Regions from separate parts of the Homo sapiens genome. Here region 1 is linked to region 2. Evidence: promoter capture Hi-C in 16 types of primary human blood cells and fetal thymus (Javierre and others, 2016). All regions are on one chromosome and are shown on one strand. The core of a region is centred on a gene start or on the middle of the fragment in contact, and the rest is flanking DNA. Distances in the headings are between cores, read along the strand shown. Region 1 overlaps PAX7 (paired box 7). Region 2 holds the start of ALDH4A1 (aldehyde dehydrogenase 4 family member A1).

Region 1 (3,944 bases), core at 183-2,682, 260 kb after region 2:
AAGTGGCCGGAGCGCCATCCCTTCCCAAGAACTTAGAAGGGGCGGCGGCTAAATTGGAAGGCGGCGAGCTTCACTCTCCGGGCAGTGAAGCCCGGGCCGGCCTGTTAATTTAGCAACGCTCTGAATGCAGTTCCCGGCCTCTCCCTCTCTCCACGTCCCAACACCGCCAGGCACGCGGGCTGGCCCCTGCCCAGCGCCCCGGGTTGGAGCGCAGAACCCGGCCTCCCGCCTCGGGGTCGGCCTCCCTCCCGCCCTGCCGGCCCAGCTCGCTCGCCTCTAATTAAGCGGCAGGATCGCAGCGAGCCGCCGGGACGTGCTGTAATATGATGAACTGCCTTTGTGCGGATGTCACCGAAAGCGCTTCTGATAAGGCGAAGCCACGAAGGATCAAAAGGGCGGCCGCGGCTCGCCCGCCTCCTATCTTCCCCTAGCCGCTGCCCGGCTTTGAGCACTCGCCCTCTCGGCCCGTGCTCTCCCGCGGGCTGTCTCTAGGTCCCGCTGGCTCTCCTGATCCGCCTGTCCCAGGGCCAGTCTCTCGGTGATTCTGCATCTCTTTGTCTTTCTTCCTGCTGCTCGGCGCCTCCCTCGGCGCCTCCGCATTTTCCAGCGTCCTCAAACTGTGCGCAAGATTCTCTTCTGCTGCGCTCAGACTTTCTCACTCTGAATTTTCTAGCTCTCTCCTCCTCTGTGGCTCTCTGTCTCCGCTGCCTCTCCCCACCCCTCCCTTGGTCTCCACCGGAGCTCGGGCCCAGCGCACCTCCAGGACCAGGGCGACCAAGCCATGGAAAGGTCCGTTCGCTGACCCTCAGACTGGGGAAATCGGCCAATTCACTGGCAGCCGACACGCAGAGCTCCGCGGCGGCCCCAGTGCCCCTCGCAATCCACCCTCGCTCAGCTCGGCTGCCAAACCGGGGGCCTGGCACGCGTGCCCAAGGCGCCCTAGAATGCCCTCGGGGCCTCTTTTGAGCTGGACTTGGGGCGCACACAACTTCCCTTCACCCCTCCCGAGGCTGTAGCGACCCGCAGACGCTTTTCCTCTCCCAGGAGGTTGAAGTTCCAAGTGCAGCCGACCCCCTCCCTTCGCATCCCCTCCCCACACCCTTTCCTTTGGCCCCCGCCTCCCCTTTGCCCTCGACCCCGTCTCTTCCTCCTCCAGGCCCCTCCCCTTCCCATGCTGGTAGTTCCCCCTGCGCTCTCACTGGACTCCTTCCCCGCCTCACCTCTCCCCCACCCCACTTCGTTTGAAGTTTTGGAGACATCTATCTACTAATGGCGAAGTTTCCCCCTTAGGTCACCGTTCTGCCTTGATTCGATTTGGGAAGGCGAGTTCCCTCCCTCCCTCCCCCTGCTCCACCCCAGCCGGGGCCAATCGCTCCAGAGCAGGTCAGAAAGCGCTGACCCCATTTCCACCTTTTCCTCTTTCAGCCAGAGTTGGGGGAAGGGGAAAAGAAGAGGGAAGGCCCCGGACAGCAAAAACTGAGGGGGGCATCCTAATCTTCCCAGCGCCTCTAACCCTCATCCTGTTTGCTAATTACCCCTTTAGTCTGCAATGGGAGGGAGAGAAGAGCTATTTTTCTGGAATTTCTGGAATGTGTCCTCCCCCCTTAGTCATGGCCTTCAAGGCCCCAGAGCCTCTAGAGAACCTTTCTTTGGGGGTCTCTCCTCTGTGCAGGAACCCTTCCCTCAACCAGGCATTGTCTTTTCAGGGGTGTGAGTTCTGTCTAGTCTTAGACTATGAGCTTCCAGGGCCACGGCCAGGACCTTGTACATTACATGTTTATATCCTTAGGTGCTCTTGCCTCACAGTACAGAATGAAGCCTCATCAACTTTGTTGATGGTGATAGAATGATGGCAAATAGAAACTCCAAAGAGGTAACCTGGAATGAAATCTCATTTGCTCAGCCCTCTTTTCCTATATAAAAATATGTTTTATATAATATTATTTATATATAATGTAATGTGTGACAACTATCATTTTCAGAAAGACATTCTTAAAAAAAAAAGCCCAAATAATCACCTTACTGCTTTAAGGCTACTGTTATATGTGCTTTTAAATCCTTCCATGTAAATTCCACTGAAAATTTGGAAAGCTGTGAAAGGGGAGGGGGCCGCGGGAGTTGGGGGGGGGGAGGTTAATCCGGGTTTAACGCTGCGATGCAGTCTCAGGACCAGGGTTAGCCTGATTGCGTTATCTCTTCCCAACATTTGAGACGCCCATATTTTACCCAGCCAAATAGCTCCGAGAGCAGCGCAGATGGCTGCTGTGGTCGCGCCTCAGGAAAATGTGTTATTAATATCTAAATAACTTCCCAATACTGTCTGGTAAATCTCCCCTCCACCATTCCAAATGATGAATTCGTTTGAAGTCTTCCCCCAGCCTCGTCTTTTCAATGTCTCTCTTCTCTCTTCTTCTTAGCCAGGCTTATTTCAAACTGGTAAATATCTAATTCCTTTAACCGCTGCGCCGTGCACACTAGTCTTTTAGGTACAAACGCCTTGAAACAGCCCAAGTGTGGCGGTGCGTGCCCCGAGGGGAACACAAAACCCGCACGCCCTCGCAGCGGGGGACCCCACCCGGTTCAGACGTGCCTGCGTTCCAAGACCGGCTGAGCACGGGAACCTCACTCAATCCGGGAACCGAGCCTCTTTTCTTGCGCGCCCTGGGGAGCCCCTCTTGGCTCCCCACGGAGTCCCAAAGGCACCCCCCAACACTCAGCTCTTCCGCAGCTCCCAGTCCCCTCCCTTCCACCCCTTCCCAGACCTCCGACGGCTTCCCCCGCTCTCTGGGGCGGATAATTGCCCTCCGCTCGCCTGTTCTCCCTTGTTTAAAGTTTGTTTTCTAAATGTCTTCTATTAGATTATGCTCATTCATCCCCCTCCAACCTTATCTCCTTCTGTCTCTTCTCTCCTTGCTCGTCACACTCAATTTAGGCACGAGTTTATCTAGCAAACAGTTTGCAGACTTTGTTTATTTACCGCGGGTTCTGGGGCTGCGAGCGCGCGAGCGCCAGTGTTTGCCTTTGTAATAGTTATCTCCTCATTGTTGTTTCTCGTTAGTCTCTGCTCCCGCCTCCCCCTCTCTCTTCTTCGGTTGGGGGGATGGAGGGAAGAAAAGGGGAGCCTTGTCAGCCCAGTGTGGGCTCGGCCCCTCGCCGGGAGCCCCCTCCGCCGGGAGCCCCCTCCGCCGGGACGTTCCCAGCTCCGCACGCCCCTCTCCGCTCGCCCCATCCCCCCCAGCCCCCGGCCCGGCGCGCCCCTCCAGCGCCCCCTCCCTCTCTCCCTCTGGTCGCACTGGATATCCACCGCCGAGCGCTGCCTAAAGCCGGGAATTGCCTGACACCCTCCCATCTTCCTCCGAGCCCCCATTATGCGAAGCTGATCCCACTCTGAACAGCTTCAAATCCCGCCTGGACTCTGTTTGATTAGATTGCCAACCCGGGGTAATCCTTTGATTTGGTGGAGTGTCAATTACCTTTCTCTAAACACACATTTACAGAGGAGGGAACTTGTTGGTTTAAATCAATGCAGATTGTTTCGTGATAAATGGACTATCCTCGTCCCCTCCCTCGCCCCCGCTTCCAAGGCTCCTGTCCCTCTCCGCCCCCGCCCCTTCCTGGTTTTCGAAGATCCCGTAAACAATGTCCCTTCCAGGTGTGAAGCCGAAAAAATGGTGTGGGCTGAGGGGAGCCGTGCCCCCCTTCCCCTATTCACTCGCTCCCCCGGAGCCTAATTAAATTTGGCAGGTCCTTGTACACACAATCAAAACAGCTTCCTCCAGTGTAGCAAACGACCGAAAACCGCATTAGCAGCTATCGCTGCTGCCAAATTAAATTGTTTCCCACCTCCTTTTACAAGTGTCTAAAACCGACACTCCGGGCTCTCCCCTCCTTTCCGATCCTTCCCCGTCATTTCCCACTCCACACCTGTAAGTTTGCTGCCTTAA
Region 2 (3,871 bases), core at 1,179-3,678:
ACAGTGGGAGCACACGACTTCCTTGGAGCCTGGGCCTTTGCGGGTCCCAGGTGGTCAGGCAGCTGGAGCAGAAGTGGAAATGGCTTAAGATGCTCATAGCCCAGCCCCGGCTGTGTCTACTCCAGGCCAAGCCTGGGCTGCAGTCCTTGCTATGTTCCCCCCAGGGCCCTGGGGGGAGGGATCAGGGTGCTGGGGGTTTCCTAGGACAGGGGTCTTCCCCCTTGAGACACCAAGCTCTGGCTCTAGAAGAGCTCTCTCCTGGAGTGGGGAGTCTGGAGGGGACTGGGTGGGTGCAGGTAAAGCCAGATTCTCTCTGGAAGGGAATTTTCTATGAATGGATGATTTCCAGGCTCAGGGTGGGCTGTGTGTTAGTTCTGAGCAAATCCCTCACCAAGACCCTTCCCTCCCAAGCCCTCAAAGAAATGAGGCAAAGCCCTTCCCTGCAAGACCCCTTGTGGATGTTTTTGCATCTACCTGATTTTTAGCCCCACCCAGGGAGACTTTATACCCCATGATCCTGCCCCACCGTTGCTGTTGTCTGCCAGCTGGGTCTAGCATCACAGGGAAGGGGGGGATTTATACTCATGGAAAGACTACTGATCCTACCGGAAACCAACCTGTTTACTGTACTGTTGTAAATATCATGCCCTTTATATCCTGTATATTGGCTTCTTTTAAATAAAGTGAAATGTCTTAGAACTGATGGTGCTTTTTTTTGTTTTTGTTTTTAAACAGAAGATGAATCTGGTGTTGGGGGAGGGGTAGGAGGACGGAAGGCCACAGAAACCCTCAAACTCATTAGTTAATTAGCCATAAAATAGGGGATTTCATATCACCTGTTACATTTGTAGCTCACAATAAAAGCTTTGGAAGATGACAAAGCAGGAATCATTACACACATTTTACTGAAGGGGAAGAGAGGACATGAGACATCACAGGCTCAGTAACTGGCTTGGCCTGGTTTGGAACTGATGTCCTTTTAACCACAAAGCCCCCATTTTTCCAGGCTCTCCAACGTGCCCACAGGAGGTCACCTTCCCAGGCTCTGGATTTGACAGTAACCAATGTTCTAGTTTTTCTTGTCAATGGGCATGTTCAGGGCAACATTGCCCAAATGTGAACTGAGCCCACCTGTCTAGGGTTTTCTCCAAAGGTGAAGACAAATAGCCGCCACCAATTCCAATTTGCTTTTTGCCATTCCTAATACTTGGCATTTAGGTAATCTCCCTCTCCTACTCTTCATTTAAATGTTTACATTCTCCCAAAGTACCTCAAATGGTGTAATCTGGAGAAAAATAAGTGGCTTAAGATCACGGGGGCTTTGTGAGTTGGGTACTATTACTTCCGTTTTACAGATGAGGAAACTGAGGCCCGGAAAGGATATGTAGTCTGCCTAGTGCCCTGCTTGAGGAACCAAAATCAGCATGGGAACTGACTCCTAAGCAGGTGCGCGGTTCATGCTGCTGGAAGAAATATAAACAAATTAGAACAGAGAGTAAGGAAACGTAACATTACTTTAGGAATAGATTGGGTCCCTGAGACCTCGTCATCAGAGAAGACTTCAGAATCCAAGTTTTAAATAGCATTCTAGTGTTTACCAAGCACACAACATTTTGCAAAGAAAGCTGAAATTTTTACTTGGGGGTAAAAGGCTCAGGAACAACTGGTTTTGCGGCCAAAGGCTTTAAATGAAAAGCTAAGCGTTGGCCAGCTCAGGTTTTATCTTGCATTGATCGTAATCTGCAAGGAAGCTAAGAAGCTGGCCGGCCCCGCGCCTGGAGGGTAGGTGGAGAGCGGCTGGGTCCTGGCCAAGAAGCTGGAAGGCAGGCTCATTCCAGGGGCCGCAGCCCCCGGGAAGAAGCAGGGGGCTGGCCGCGCTGTGGCCCTGCGGGGTCGAGGAGTCTGGTAGCGGACAGGTTTCCAGCCTTGTACAAGCCACCGGCAGCCCGAGAGAAGTCAGTCGGACTCCCATCGAACCCGGGGCGCACGCCAGAGGGCCGGACGCAGCGAGTCCTTCTGCCCCGCTTCAGCACGTGTCCCATTTCGGTTATCTCATTGGCTCTATTCAGCCCCTCTCTGCTCCGCTTTGGAAGGCTGCCGCAGGACCGCCCCGCTGATTGGTTCAGAAGCTTTGGTGTGTCACTCTGACTGGTCGACAGAGTTCACGCCCTCTCTCCCGGGTCATACCATAAAGAGAGGAGGGGAAAACGCATGCATTTCAGGACTTCGCTTTCGGGTTCCCTTGTCCTGTGTTGTGTAATGCCCCCGTTATGGCACTAGAAATATTTTTTATTAGCCGAAGCTAAATATAGTGGGACTTTGGCTGATCCCGAGCTCGGAGGACAGCCGGGGTGATCCGTTTCCCCCCGAGGATCGAGGTGGTGCGCTCTGGACGGGGTTGTGCATTCTCGCCGCGCCCGGGCGGACGATCCAGCGAACAGCCCCGCTTCTAACCCGAGATGCTGCTGCCGGCGCCCGCGCTCCGCCGCGCCCTGCTGTCCCGCCCCTGGACCGGGGCCGGGTGAGTGAGCACGGGGCCCGGGGCGGCCCGAGCGCGCGCCTGGGGCCCGGGAGCCTGAGAGTCACTGGGCGTCCCCCGCGCCGCACTCCCTCCCTGCCGGACCCCCAAGCTGCCTCGGTCAACGCCGGGTTCCTCAGGGGCTCCCCTCCGACCCCCACCCAGGCCTTTCTCCCACTGAGATCCCTTAGCCTCCTCCCTCAGGTAGTCACCTTCCTTTAGCGAGGGGACCCCTCTTCCCGAATCCTGCGACCGAGTAGGGTGCCTCGGTGGCCCTGCCGGTTCCCACGCTCGGAAAGTAGCCTCTGTAGTCACTCACCTCACTCCTAATACTGGATCTTCGCAATTTGCTGGCTTCCCCTGAGGGGCCCTTCTATTTTTAGCACACCACACATCTCACTTCCCCACCCTCGTCTCACGTTCAGTGTCCCCATCCCGCCCCGGATTCCCCGAGTCCTCTCCTTCTACCAGGATTTCTACCTCTCTCTTTTCCGCTCCCCACACACCCCGCCGCCCGTTTTTTTTTTTTTTTTTCAAGTTAAATGTTGGACAGAAAAAAGGATTCCTTTCTTCTTGTAGGTGGAATAATCATATTTATAGAGTGCTTATAATGAACCAAATGCTGGCCGGGCAATTGGCAGGTGTCTTATGAGGATTAAATGAGTTAATACATGGGGAGTGCACTGAACAGTGCCCAGCACAAAGGCAGCGCCCGGTTATTATTATTGCCACGATCATCATCATTATCACCTCTATTTAAACTTCTCACTCCTGTGAGGCAGGTCATTATTCCAAATAATGAAGAAACCCAGGAGCAGTTCAGGGGTGGACCTGCCCTTCAAATCCCGATTTGCAAACCTGACATTGTGGAGCCAGGTGCCTGGACCCTTGCCCACTCAATGACAAATATTCTCAGAGCCCCTCCAGCTCGGAGCTAGGTTTGGAGAGGTAGGTGGGACACAGACCCTGCCCCAGAGGGGTTCCTAGTCTGGTGGGGCTGCCCACCTGTGGATCAGCCCCCCCTCCCATTTGAGGTTTGTTTGCTTGACCCCTGGGGCTGTTAGTGGCAGTGTCTTTCCTGATGAGCTGTGCCCTTTCTGAGTTAATCAGTGGCCCTCTCCCTTCCCCCAAGGGATGGCATGGTGGTGCTCTGAGCACAAGTGAGTTGCAACACTGCTGTGTGTCCTCTGTGGGTGAAGAGGGGATAGGAAAGGGCGCAGGAAGAGGACATGGGACAGAGGGGTTCCTCTTCTAGGCTGAGACTGGGGCCACACTTGCCATACTCCCTGTGTGATCCCGTTTGCAGGCCTTCCCTGCACTCTGAGACTCAGGAAGATGGAGCTTATAGAGTCC

What was found. The method cuts DNA at HindIII sites, captures the fragments that hold promoters and counts their contacts. A CHiCAGO score of 5 or more calls a contact.
Region 1: a fragment that was not itself captured here is called in contact with the fragment with the promoter of ALDH4A1 in region 2 in 1 of 17 cell types (fetal thymus); the score reaches 12.3 in fetal thymus.

The regions. Positions count from the first base shown.
Region 1 is chr1:18,640,140-18,644,083 of GRCh38, reverse strand. The region is part of intron 4 of PAX7 (paired box 7); the gene reads right to left. Among named protein-coding and RNA genes, the nearest start is that of PAX7, 11 kb to the right of the region's middle. RefSeq lists an enhancer at 2,612-3,133. The HindIII fragment of the contact is 6,318 bases long and covers 1-3,944 here.
Region 2 is chr1:18,901,112-18,904,982 of GRCh38, reverse strand. It overlaps ALDH4A1 (aldehyde dehydrogenase 4 family member A1), which reads left to right and starts at 2,428. Exons shown (of 15, transcript NM_003748.4): 1 at 2,428-2,521. The coding sequence starts at 2,460. It overlaps LOC124903866 (a long non-coding RNA gene), which reads right to left and starts at 2,870. Exons shown (of 2, transcript XR_007065519.1): 1 at 2,731-2,870; 2 at 1,612-2,173. IFFO2 (intermediate filament family orphan 2) reads left to right here. Exons shown (of 9, transcript NM_001136265.2): 9 at 1-703. RefSeq lists enhancers at 1,375-2,192, 2,132-2,361 and a silencer at 2,442-2,661. The HindIII fragment of the contact is 9,883 bases long and covers 2,132-3,871 here.